2 separate regions of the Homo sapiens genome follow, and region 2 is linked to region 1. Evidence: promoter capture Hi-C in 16 types of primary human blood cells and fetal thymus (Javierre and others, 2016). All regions are on one chromosome and are shown on one strand. Each heading gives the region's core, a stretch centred on a gene start or on the middle of the fragment in contact. The rest is flanking DNA. Distances are from core to core; before and after follow the strand shown.

The links. Contacts are between HindIII fragments. The CHiCAGO score rates a contact against its expected background, and 5 or more counts as called.
Region 2: a fragment that was not itself captured here is called in contact with the fragment with the promoter of BCL10 in region 1 in 1 of 17 cell types (activated CD4 T cells); the score reaches 6.2 in activated CD4 T cells.

Annotation. Positions count from the first base shown.
Region 1 is chr1:85,273,931-85,280,988 of GRCh38, reverse strand. BCL10 (BCL10 immune signaling adaptor) reads left to right here and starts at 4,357. Exons shown (of 3, transcript NM_003921.5): 1 at 4,357-4,693. The coding sequence starts at 4,637. BCL10-AS1 (BCL10 antisense RNA 1) reads right to left here and starts at 4,631. Exons shown (of 2, transcript NR_045484.1): 1 at 4,192-4,631; 2 at 2,901-3,348. RefSeq lists enhancers at 1,289-1,348, 1,539-1,648, 4,057-4,759, 3,965-5,164. The HindIII fragment of the contact is 19,185 bases long and covers 1-7,058 here.
Region 2 is chr1:84,145,027-84,152,084 of GRCh38, reverse strand. All of the region lies in intron 1 of PRKACB (protein kinase cAMP-activated catalytic subunit beta), which reads right to left. Among named protein-coding and RNA genes, the nearest start is that of PRKACB, 4.3 kb to the right of the region's middle. The HindIII fragment of the contact is 1,219 bases long and covers 3,223-4,441 here.

The DNA.
Region 1 (7,058 bases), core at 3,108-5,607:
AACTATGCCCAAACTTCATTGTTAGCCAGACCCTGTGATTTAGCAGAAAGAGGAAAATTAGTTTACTAATGAAAGAATTATGATGCATTAGAAAGCAAGAAGGACTGGGAGTTGCAAAGCCTGCCACAAACGAGCTCTGTGATTAAGCACGTGGTATTCAGATGTGGCTTTTTAAGCTAGGCAATTCATCTTGGGAACATTGACACATGGTCTGAAAAGCAAAATATTACTCTTTCAGCTATAAAAAAACTCCCGGAATCCTCATTCAGTCCCGCCCAATCCCTGATCCTTATTCTGTAACTCCCAATTCTAACATAGGGCAGACACTTAACTTTTTAGTTGACTAAATAAATAAGGGAATGAATACTGAGGATAGAAAAGGGTTGGAGGTGTCAGAAATGAAATGATGGTCAAGGAAAGAGAAAGACTCAGATGTATAGGGCATGGAAGAATGTTCAAGAATCAAAGATGTCTGCCACTAACATTTGGTAATCAAAAGCCATGACAAGCAAATGTGGCAATATATCAGTATCTGCTCAATCTTGGTAGTGAGCGTAGGGTGTTTGTAATATTCTTTATAGTTTGGTGGGTTTAAAATGTTTCCTTTAAAAAGAACAACAGTGCAGTAGCAATCTCAAAATGGCCAAATCAAAATGAGTGCATTAAATTGGCAGCATTCAATTCACTTGCTTTGATGGGTGAATCCTCCCCTTCATCAGCAGAACTGATTTGACTGTGGTAAAAACAGTTCATTCCCACACACAGATAGACCAACACAGCCCTTTTGGAGAGCACCCATATATAAGAAAAGCCATAAAATATTCATTTCCTTGGGCTTTGTACTCCTGGTTCTGGGAATTTATGCAAAGGCAATGATAATTTGAAAGGAAAAAGGATGAAAATATGTAAATTCTATGACAATTTTTTAATAACAATGAACACTTGGGAAGGATTTAAGGTGTCAGTGGGGAGTGCTCACCACTGCCCCCACCCTGGTCAAGCCATCCTAAGCTGTGCCTGGATGGCTGTGTGTAAGGAACATGGCTGTGCTTTGGTCAAGGATAGGACGAGGTAAACATCCACAGGGACTCAGCGAGTTTAGAGCGCAGGCATATAACTCCACTTGTTATCACAGCTATGTAGCCATAACATGGGAAGGCCATCCCTTGGCTCTAAGCCACTATTGTCTGTAAAAGGTATAATTGCCCTGTTGACATCGTGCAGGCGTGCTGACACCCAGAGAGAGAGAGAGAGAGCCAGAGTTGACCCTCTTGGAGACTGACAGTGGGGAGCCAGGACACAGCTCGGCTTGCTCATGCCCAGAGAGAGGAAGAGTTAAGCTGCTGACCCCGAAGGCAAGGGAGAGTCGGCCATGCAGCTGTGTGGGGGAGCCGCCAGACTAAGCACCTGAGACAGGGCAGACAGTGTAGAGAGCTAGTGTAAGAAAGCTGTTGATGAGAGCTGCTGCTGAGTAAAATCATCTTTTACCTGCCTACGGTCCCCTGAGTGTTCTTTCTGCTCATCCACCCACTCCCCTTGGACCTCAGCATGGGCTAGAACCTGACCCCAAGCATGACATTTGGCTCAGTCGTGAACCTGACATTGTGGTAGCCTCCACGTAGTCTCTGCTTCTTGCCCTTGCCCCTGCCATCTACTCTCCACTTAGCAGCCAGAGTGATCCTTTCAAAATGAAATCAAACTGCTTCCTTGCTTCATTTCAAAATGCTCCCACCACCCTCACTGCTCCACCCTGGTCTGAACCACAACCTCCTGGGGCCTGGATATAGCAATACCTCCCTAAATGGTTTTCCCTCTTCCATCTTCTTTCCCCTTAGCACAGAAGTGAAAGTGCTTCTTTTCAAATCACAAATCAGATCATGTCACTCTGCTCAGAACCTTCCAGTGGCTTCCCGTCTGACTCAGCACACCCATATGACTCAACACACAAGGAGATCATCTCCTTCCAGTTACACTGAGCATTTTTATTGGTTGCTGACTGTACTCATAATGCTCTCTCCTTATATCCACACGGTTCACTCCCTCACTTCCTTTAAGCATAAATCAAATCCCTTATCTTGGTATTGACAAGACAAGGACAGACTCCTCCAAAGTGAGCAGGGAGGTCATGACCACCCTAGCTTAAATTTTACCAATCCATACAGCCTCATCCTACTTCCCTGTTTTATTTTTTCCTCTTAGTATTTATCATCTTCTAATAAATTAAATAACTTAGATATAGCCAGGCGTGGGGGATCATGCCTGTAATCCCAGCACTTTGGGAGGTTGAGGTGGGCAGATCACCTGAGGTCAGGAGTTCGAAACCAACCTGGCCAATGTGGTGAAACCTTGTCTCTACTAAAAGTACAAAAATTAGCTGGGCGTGGTGGTGTGTGCCTGTAGTCCCAGCTACTCAGGAGGCTGAAGCAGGAGAATCGCTCGAACCCGGGAGGCAGAAGTTGCAGTAAGCTGAGATGGTGCCATTGCACTCCAGCCTGGGAAACAGAGTGAGACTCCGTCTCAAAAAAATAAATTAATTAATTATTTTTTTAAAATAACTTAGATATAGCCGGGTGTGGTGGCATGCGCCTGTAATCCCAGCTACTGGGGAGGCTGAGGCAGGAGAATCACTTGAACCTGGGAGGAGGAGGTTGCAGTGAGCAGAGATCGTGCCACTGCACTCCAGCCTGCGTGACAGAGCGAGATTCTGTCTCCAAATAAATAAATAAATAAACTTAGATAAAATTTTTCAAGTGCCTACCTCGTCTGCCCCAAACACAAATAAACTAGAATATAAATTCCATGAGGAAAGAGATTTTTATTGGTTTTGTTCACAGCTGTTTTCCTAGCACCTAGAACAGTGTCTGGCACATAGTGGACATTCAAAACACATTTGTTAAATGAAAGGATTCATCCTAAAGTTAAGGATGGTTCAGTAAATCGGATGGAAGATGATGAAAAATTAAGCAATTAGAAAAAAACTGTCCTTGTGTAATGTGTCAACATGGAAACAGGACATAATGTAAACATCAGAATCCCTTGCTGTGATTCTGGTTTTTGTGGCTCTGGTTACATTGTTTTTTTGTGTGTGTTTTTTTTTTTTTTTGCTTTCCCGTTTCTTAAACATTGGCGTTCCCAAGTTTCTCCTTGGTCCTCCTGTCATTTTTATCTACTCTCGTAGCTTCAAATACCATCTAGTTTATAGTTTATTTAGCATGTTGTCCAAGCCACCGTCTTGGGCCCAGGGCTCTACCTGTAGCTTTTCATCCACACTTCTCAGGTTGCTTCTTACACAGCGCCATAGTAGTTAAAATACGGTCTGGGGATAGTCGTCTCTTCATCAGTCTCCCCCTATAAAATGGAGGACTCATAGTATAAGTTGCCTAGAACATATTAGTAAGGACTCAATAAATGTTTGAGTAGGATGAGCTGGGTGGCTCATGCCTGTAGTCCCTGCACTTTGGGAAGCCGAGGCGGGTGGATGGCTTGAGCCCAGGAGTTTGAGACCAGCCTGGGCAACATGGCGAAACTCCATCTCTATAAAAAATACAAAAAAACTAGCTGGACTCCCAGCTGCTTGGTGGCTGAGGTGGAAGGATCGCCTGAGCCCTGGAGGTGGAAGCTGCAGTGAGCCGAGAATCGCACCACTGCACTCCAGCCTGGGCGACAGAGTGAGATCCTGTCTCAATAAATAAATAAATAATCAGTTGAGTGCATACTGTGTGCCCAACTACCTTTAAGAACTTTACATATGATCCCGGCAGCCCTAAAAGGTAAGCATATCTATCTCCATTACACAGATTAACTAATGAGGAAAAGCTATGTTTATAATGAACAGTGACCAAAAAGTATGCAAACGTTAAATGAGGTGTTAAAGTGGTGGGATTGTAGGTGGTTTCTTTTTTTCTTTCAAAAATTTGTTTAGTATTGTAGTTAGGCTGTTTGTGTGTATGCATGTGTATGTGTGTATGAGTGCGTTTGTGTGTGACCAAAACAGTAACTGGCAAACGTAACAACAGGAAATTGTAGGGCAGGGTCTGGGAAAAGGGGAGGAACCCAAGGTACTGACAAGCCCAGACCGGACTCCCCCGAAGTGAGCAGGCAGCAAAGGCTGAGAGTGCCAGCTGCCTGGGCACTGACGGACCCCACCCACGGAAACGATGCCTTATGAGGAAGCTAACCCGGGCCACTTACCGACGACCTGCGCAGGCGTGGCTTGAGGAAACGCCCGCTGTGGGCGGAGCCACCCGAAAGGCTCCGGTCGGGGGCGGGAACAGGATCGGCCCGCGGGCTGGCGTCGATAGGCTGCCGCAGAGACAGGGCGGGCTCTGCTAAGCGACGCGCCTCGCCGTGGGGCGGTGCCTGCGCCTGAGCCTCTACGAGAGGGAAGGAACGCTGCTCCGAGCTCCGCGTCGCGTCGCGTAGATTCGCGTCGCCGTCGACCTCAGAGGCGGGGCCGGAAGCGCTACGGTTTGACCCCCGAGTCCCTCTGTTCCCGAAGGGGCGGCCGTCTTTCTCCCGACCCGCTCCGCCTCCTCTCCTTCTTCCCCATTACCCGGAGGCCGAAGCCCCCAGCCAGGGCGGGGCGGCGCAGCCCGAGCTCCCGGACCCGGAAGAAGCGCCATCTCCCGCCTCCACCATGGAGCCCACCGCACCGTCCCTCACCGAGGAGGACCTCACTGAAGTGAAGAAGGACGTGAGTAACGCAGCTGTGCCCAGGGCGGGCGGGGGCGGGCTGCAGCCCAGCGGGAGACGAAAGCGGAAGCCTGGAGTCCGAGGACAAGGAGGATCCTCCAGGTCGGAGGAGCGGAAAGTCCTAGCACAGGAGGACTGTGGCGAGCCCTGCATCCGAGGGACCTTGGTGGCAGTGATCCTCCAGTGATCTGTCAATCCAGGTTTTACATCGCTAAACGCAGAGCTTGGGCTTTGTTGCCAAGTGGTGTTTTGATTCTTGCCCACTCCTCACCCATCTCCTCATGCTTTCCCCCCAACTGGGTTCTTGGAGATGCTTCGTTAGGGACTGGCGGCTCAGATTCATCCTTAAGTCAGGCTGCCTAGGCTGCTCACTCAGCCTAGAGCGAAGGCTGTACCAGGTGAAGGATCCCAAGCAGTGGACCAAAAATGTGAAGCTCTTTTGCATAAGGGGGCTTGAGGAAGCTCAACAGCTGAAAGCACAACCTGGAATTCCCCTAGTAAGCAGACGCCCACATATTTAAATTGGGGTTGGGGGAGTGAATACACGTAGCTGAGAATTAATGTACAGGTAAACGTCGAAAATATTCAGTAGCTAAATTATGCTCTTCTCGGATGGTGCAGAACCACATAAACCTTCATATTTATTCGTAACGAATGGCTTTGTTGAGATATGACATTCTTTTTCCTTTGCGTTTACTTGTTTTGTCAGATGAGACCTATATGAGTATCACTAAAATACTTTATCTGAAGTCAAATGAAAAACAGAAACTCAACATGAAACGTGTTCTTATTGAACACTGCAGTACTTTTACAAAGTCATTTTGATGAACTGGACAGGATGGCAACTTTTTAAATGTTCATCCACTTCAAATCCCTTCCTCTTCCCTGTAAGGTTTATTACACTGTACTCACAATTGGTGTGACTCACCAGCAGAAGGAAACTGGATATGACTGGGAGTTGTGCTTAGTTTCCTCATTCAACAGAGATTTATGGAGCACTTGCTATATGGAAAGCACTGGCCTTGGGTCTGGAAGGATACAAAAAAATGAAGATCAGTTTCCTGCTTTACATTCTAGTTGAGATAAGAATGGAACATAAATAACTACTGTAGAATAAATGTTGTCTTATTCATGGTGAGTGCCAGTAAAACCTTGAACTTCCAAGAGCTAGGCCTCCTATGTTCCAGATGCTGTGTCACACAGTTTACAATGTTCCCACTTAACCTTCGCAACAACCTCTAAAGAAGATAATTGCCATTCCCATTTTACAGCTAATAAAACAGGAACTGAGAAATTACAAGTGGAAGGAAATAAGATCTGTATACAAGTACAGATGTGAAGAGTGGCTTCCAGGTCTTTGTTCTTCTCTGTCAATTCATTGATGTTATCTGTCTTCAGGATTTCATTTTACGCCTATATCAGAAATAAATAACCTTGAGGAAACCATGGATGGGTTTCAAAAGGTCTATGAAAGAAACTATGTGCATGCTTTTTTCTTAGAGGTTTTTTTCATGATATTTTCAAAATGTCTTCTGATCTTAGAGAGTTTTAAAATTATCCACATATTTGGACTTTTCTCTCCACTCTAGGTCCTTATTTCCAAATGTCTACTGGAAATCTACTTTTATATCCTACAGATTGCTCACCTTGTCAAATATTGAACTTTTACTATCCTTTTCCCAAAGTTGCTTACTGTTGCTGCTGTATTGCCTTTCTTGATGAATGGTGTGCTACCACCCTTTGTCTTGGGACCTCCCACTTCTTTAGTGTCTCCCCCTCCTCCTATCTAGTTATTTGCCTCATTGTGTTAGTTGGATTTAGTACAGTTTAATAAATATGGATTACATGCTACTGTGAGGCTGATACTGTGGTTGGTTCTAACAGTTCAAAAATTAAAAATGAAAACACAATCCTAACTTGAAAAGAGCTCAATTTCTTGAGGGGGATTGTTTTAAATCACAAAATAAGTGCAGTGAGTTTTGCATTCAACTGAAACATTAACTACTTGGTGCCCTAGTAAGTGCAGGATATACAGTGTTGGCTAAAACATACCTCGTAGCTGCCTGCTTCAAACAGAGACGTTAGTTTAAAACAAATAAATAAATTTTGTTTTCATTATTGCAATTACTATGAAGGAATCAAACAGTGCCAAGACAATAATAGGGGAAATCGACTTGAGATAGGATGGTCAGGAGAGGTTATATTTAAACTGATTCCTGAAAGATTTGACAGAACTGAGGGAAGAGCATTCTGGGCAGAATAGAATTTGTCAAGGACCTAAAATAGGCAAGACCCTGGTGACTTGGGGAAATCGGAGGAAGGCAGAGGGTAATCTGAAGTGAAGTTAGGAAGGTGGGCTAGAGCCA
Region 2 (7,058 bases), core at 2,583-5,082, 1.1 Mb after region 1:
AACATCCATTCTGCAGGCATGGATCAGGTCTTATTATTTAAGAAATATATTTTATAAGGCTAAAGGTGTCACAGATAGTGATTCCTCTGATGGATCTGGGCAAAGTAAATTGAAAACCTTCTGAAAAGGAGTTACCATTCCAGATGCCGTAAGAACATTGTGATTTATGGGAGGAGGTCAGAATATCAACATCAACAGGAGTTTGGAAGAAGTTGTTTCCAACTCTCATAGATGCGTTTGAGCGGTTTAAAATTTCAGTGGAGAAAGTCACTGCAGATGTGGTAAAAAATTACAAGATAATTAGAATTAAAAGTGGAGCCTGGAGATGTGACTCTATTGCTGCAATCTCCTGATAAAACTATAACGAGTGAGGAGTTGCTTCTTGCAGATGAGCAAAGAAAGTAGTTTCTTGAGATGGAATCTATTTCTGGTGAAGATGCTGTGAAGATTATTGAAATGACACCTGAGAATTTAGAATATTACATCAACTTAGTTGGTAAAGCAGTAACAAGGTTTGAGAGAACTGACTCCAATTTTAAAAGAAGTTCTACTGTGGGTAAAATGCTACCAAAAACATCACATGCTACAGAGAAATCTTTTATGAAAATAAGAGTCAGTCAAGTGTGTCACTTTGTTGTCTTATTTTAAGAAATTGCCACTGCCATCCCAACCTTCAGCGACCATCACCTTGATCAATCAGCAGGCAAACATCAATGCAAGACCCTCCACCAGCAAAAAAATTGGGAAATGCTGAAAGCTGAGATGATCATTAGTATTTTTTTAGCAATAAAATAATTTCAAATTAAGATATGTACTTTTAAAAAGATATAATGTTATTGCACACTGAATAGACTATAGAGTAAACATAACTTAAATGCACTGGGAAACCAAAAAATGTGTGACTTGCTTTACTGTGACTTTAGTTGTATTGTGGTGGTCTGGAACTGGACCTGCAGTATCTCTGAGGTATGACTACATGAAAATTGCTAAGAGATTCAATCTTAAATTTTTTGCCATGAAAAAGTAACTATGTGAGGTGGATATTCATTTGTTTTAGTCATTTCACAATGTATACTTATATTGAACCATCATGTTGTACATTATAAATATACGCAATTTTATTTGTCAAGTATACCTTAATAAAGCTGAGGGGGAGGGAGGAAGAAATAAACTTTCCAGTGTCAACTTATTAAGAATGGAGTTAAATTCTCAAATCCATATTTTTCACATTCAGATTTTTGTTATGGACTGGTCTATTTTGGCATTACTATAAAGAAATACCTAAGGCAGAATAATTTATAAAGAGATTTATTTTGGCTCATGGTTCTGCAGACTGTAGAAGAAGCATACTGCCAACATCTGCTTCTGATGAGGGCCTCAGGAAGCTTTCAATGATGGCAGAAGGCAAAGAGGGAGCAGGCATGTCACAGGCAAAGAGAGGGAGCAAGAGAGAGGGGGAAGTGCCATGTTTGTTTTAAAAAAACAACCAGTTATTGCATGAACTAATAAAGCAAGAACCAGCTCATTACCCATTGGGAGGACACCAAGCCATTCATGAGAGATCCTCCCCCATGACCCAAACGCCTCCCATTAGGCCCCACCTCCAACACTGGGGATCACATTCCAACATGAGATTTGGAGGGGACAAACATATAATGTTCTTACCATGACCCTGGTAGTTGTAACAGAAGGAAGTATAATGGGCCATTATATTTTTAATTTTTAAAAATATCAATATACTGTTTTGAGAATAAATTTTACAATGTTAAATGTGTTTTCTTTATTTTATTTTATTTTAATTTATTTTGAGATAGAGTCTCACTCTGTCACCCAGGCTGGACTGCAGTGGTGCAATCTCACCTCACTGCAGCCTCTGCTTCCTGGGGTCTAGTGATTCTCCTGCCTCAGCCTCCCAAGTAGCTGGGATTACAGGTGTGCGCCACCACACCTGTAGATGGAGCCTGGCTAATTTTTGCATTTTTAGTAGAGACAGGGTTTCACCATGTTGGCCAGGCTGTTGTTGAACTCCTGACTGCAAGGGATCTGCCCACCTCAGCCTCCCAAAGTGCTGGGATTACAGGCGTGAGCCACCACACCTGGCCTTAAATTTGTTTTTAAAAATATCATTAAGGATAGTAGCTATATAATTATTTTCACACATTCTCAAGTGCTATAATCTATGAAAAAATAATTATTATAATAATTAACTCCAAAAAGATATGCATGTTTATCTGGGATTCAATTAATTTAATGCAAAAGCCTTAAAATGGTCATAACTTCTTCAAATTAATCCTATAAAATATAAAAATAATCCTAAATATGTACAAATATTTAGTTATAAAGATGTTTATCATGGCATTTTTTAATAGCAAAACATTAAAAACAGCCTAGATGGCCAATGATTGGTTAAATAAATTATAGTATATCCTTATGATTTAATACAAAATAGTATTGTAGAACAACTCTTTATAAAGAAAAATGTTAACTAAACATTATGTTTTGAAAGATCCAAATTCTGGAGCTGGGCTGGGTGCAGTGGCTCAGGCCTGTATTCCCAGCACTTTGGGAGGCCAAGGCAGGCAGATCACTTGAGTTCAGGAGTTCAAGATCGACCTGGGCAACATGGTGAAACTCCACCTCTACCAAAAATACAAAAAATTAGCCGGGTATGGTGGCACATGCCTATAGTCCCAGCTACTTGGGAAACTGAGATGGGAGGATCGCTTGAGCCTGGGAGGCAGAGGCTGCAGCGAGTCGAAATCCCACCACTGCACTCCAGCCTGGGTGACACGGTAAGACTCTGTTTAAAAAAAAAAAATTGGAGCTGGTAGAAATTTGTGTGTCTATACACAAAATAGAGTATATATACAAAAATTAACAGTCATTACCTTTTGGCAGAATTATGTATACTTTTTTTTACCTTTTTGTTTTTTCCTGTAGTTTCAAAATTTTCTCCAGTGAAGATATACATTTGGAAATCATATTAAAATGTTATTAGGGAAAAAGTGCTTCTCACACCTTAATGTGCATATAAATCAGCTGGGAAATCTTGTTAAAATGCTGATTCTGACTAAGTAGGTCTAGGTGGGACCTGGGATTCTTCCTCCTAACAAGCTCCCAGGAGATGCTAATAATGCTGGACAGGGACCACACTTTGAGTAGCAAGCTGTCTTCTAACTCTGTCATATGGCTATTTTTGCAAAGCACAAGCAAGTAAAAGCTTCTCGTTATGTTAGTACAGTTGATATAGTACTTGCATTGCTAAATGGCTCATGGAATGATTTCCTGATTTCAACATCATTTAATATCCCAACTATTTTAGTTTTACTATAAAGTCTGCTTGTTACTTAAATTTTTATTGGAAATCATGATAAAAATACACAGGTAACACTGAAAATTGGTATTTACTAGAGCCAGGTCAGCATTTGACTGCTTTTGGTTAATGGCCATGGGCTTTTAAAATAAATTGCAAAGATCACAATAGCACAAATTAGTAAGAAGCTCATTTGTGTAATACTGCAGTGATGTTTAATGTTAATTTAACAAATAACTCAAGATTTATTGAAAATTATGCTAGTAATACTGAAATAAACTGACAAGTTATTTGCCTTCAAGGAGTTCAAAATCAAACATGAGAGACAGATACATAAGGATTAATAGTAATGCATTTTAAATATTATAAACTATAATATATATAGTATACAAACTATACCATATAAATACTATAAATAAACCACAATAAAAGTTAAGTATAAGATGATATAAGAACATAAGGAAGAGCACAGACTCTAAGAAGGATGAAGGATAGATGAATAGGATACATTGGTGGTTTTGTTACAGAGATGATACCTGAGAGGATGCCTAAAGTATGGGCAAATCTCACCACTGGTAGAAGTGAAGAAAGAGAATTCCAGACAGAAGCAGCAACTTGAACAAGCACTGTTGTAAAAGGAATCCATTATCTGACTATTCATTGCCATGCTGACTGTCACGTCAAAAGCGTTAGTTCTAATTAAATGCCCAGCAAAAACGGAAGATGTATAGTAGCTATACACATTTCTCTGTAGTAAAGTAAGTTAACTTATCCTGTATTATGCTAGTTAAAATCTTTAGGCTCTTTTAACAAAGGTTGCATTATATTATTTTCCACTTTAAAAAACTGCATTGGCTCCCCACTAATACAGCGTAGTACAAAATTCTGGATGTCTAATAGAAAACTTTTAAAGTTTAAATCCAGAACCTAATTTTCTAGACAGTATCTTACTAAACCTTTTAAGTAAGTTCTAAATGTTCATATTTTCAAATACTTGTGTATGTTATTTTCTTAAAATAACCTTCTTCTCTAGGTCTCAAAATTCTATTCATTCTTTAATATTTTTGAAGTCCCCCATTTTCTCTTTAGTAACAACTTTTTTCTTACACTTAGCTTCCACAGTAAGCTTAGACATTTTAAAGCAACTATTTCATTATGCCTTGAATATTATATTATGTTTGCTCTTCTTTTTGGGGGTAAGAACTAGATCTTATTTTTCCTGGAAACTTGCTTACTTACTATGATATAGTAAATACTCAAAAAAGTTTTACCAAATGAGTAGAAATTGACTATTATCAAGAAGCTTATGGAATAGTTTCAAGTGGAAAAAGCTGATAAAAAGACAAAGGTGGAAAGTCTTTTAGCTGAGAAGTTAAAATGATACAGATTCAATGGGCTAACAAATAGGAGGTAAACTGTCTGAGAGATTGTATAAAATTTGCAAAGGTAAAACTGACTGAAGTGGTCTACTGTAACCACTTTATGATTTTGCTAGAGGACATCCATAATCAAAACTGCTCATTTGTTTAATATATTTAAATCTAAGATTTACTAAAATGGATTTGTATTTACAAGAGAAATAGCCTGTCAATTCATAGGAAAAGGGAAAGAAAAAGTATTTGATGGTATTGACCTATTTGCTTCTTAAAATACTGTAGTTAGACCTTCATTAAGTCAGCATTGTATAACTCTACACATTTATGATCAAAGGAAGATTAAAAAGCTAACTATAATAAATTTGCTAGAAAGAGAACTTAACGCATGTCAATGCTCTCATTCATTCTGAGTTGGAACAAAAAGCAGAATTCCTCCATGCTTTTCTTTGAACTTCATGTATTTATATGTGCATGCAATTAGCTGTTACATATTTATTTAATCAAACAGGAATTTCTGTTACTTAGTTTAATAGTAAAAGATGAAACACCTGAGACCACTATGTGGCCTTTGTTCTGTGTTTCTTCCTATACATAATGTCACTGGACACGAAAGAAACTTGGATTGAAGCATGCTGCATTTCATGTCTCCTAAATTGGTAACTGATCTTTATACAAAGGTTTATGAATTTTTTTTGTAAATTGATGTAGTTTCTATGCTTAGTTTATTTCATTATAAAAACACTTTAGGAACAAACATATTCAGTGTTTATCATCAGGAGACATTACATTCCCTTGTCAAATGAGTCATGCAAGTAAACTGCTTTAAGTAGCTTTGAAGAATGTGGTTCATATGAAACTTTGTACAGTCAGAACTCCTTCTATAACTCATTCGCCAAATAAATAAAAATTGTGTTTTCACCACAAAAATAAACCTTGGAATTTTGAAATGATCGGATTCCTCTATTTCAGCTCTATCAGTGTTTTCTCCTCTACAATAATACATTTCATAATAGGAAATTATAGCTTCATGCTACCATACTCATCCTTAGACATAAAATTATTATCTCTATTATGGTATTCAGGGATATAAAAAGGAGAGTCAAGTAGAGGAATGCTTAATTAATGAACATTCAGTTACTCTTTAAGTATTTCTTACATCATGCATATTATTTGCAGCGCTACATGGTTTGCTCCTAATTTTATTTGTGTACAAGAATCCTATTTGTTTTGACTTCACAATAAAAAAAAAACAAAACAGCATTTTATCCAATAGAAATCATGGCTCATGATACTATTTTCCATTACTAGATTTTAAAATATGTTTTAGAAAGCATCACAGATCCCATACATTTAAAAAGTGGTGAAAGTCTAGTTCAAACATAACTTTTAATTATTAAAAACCCCTAACATTCATTTATTTGAGACACTTTTACTAAACACCCACTATATGAAGAGCAGGTATTAATGAAACAGAAATTAATTCAATTCTGTCTTAATTCCTCATTTAACTTTAAATTAAAACATACTTGAAATGCATAAAAATAATTTCCAAAAGGATTTAAAAGACTGCAATTTAAAAGAATAGGGCAAGGACAATAATTAACAAGCTTTTGTTACATGGTAAAGTTTAATATTATACCACTATTTTAATATTCAACAGTTCATTAACTTGAAGATATATATTCATATTCCTCATCCATCAACTTGCTATACAGTAAAGACTATAAATAACCCAAAACCTTTTAAGTGGAAAAAATGCACAAATACATGTTCTTCCTCAATCTCCCAAAAATAGTTTGAAGAATGTAAAAAAATTTCTGATTTAGTAAAAAATTAATTCAAATAAGCTTCTATAACACTGTCAAGGTGCTGTATAAACCTAGGAGTAAATTTTGTAAGCCATTCTTGATTTTGCTGTTGTGGTTGTTAAGCTGAGTTTTCTTCCTTAACTGCTACCAAATACATAAACAGAAAGAGTCAAACGCTAGTGCTATTTGATGATCAAACAAACACACCAAAGAGGGCAAAAGTTTCAAGGGTAATTCTATTGTTCCTCTAATTGGAGTCACAGAAATACCTTGAGGAGGGTCCAAGGTGAGATGTAGAATGGCGGCACTAGTATTGTTTATATGTGCAATTTATCTTTTAGAGTGTATGGCACCAAAAATGGTTCCCCAGCACCATTTTAGCAAAGCTGCAAGTTCAAACATTTTAACATGCCTGAAAGAATGTGATTCATGCATAACCAACTTTTCCTGCATTTGAGTCATATGTATAAATAACATAAAATATAATTATAAAGTTTTTGATATCCATAATGTTATAAGTGTAAGAATTTAGATAGAATAATTATGTTTTATTTTAGAAAT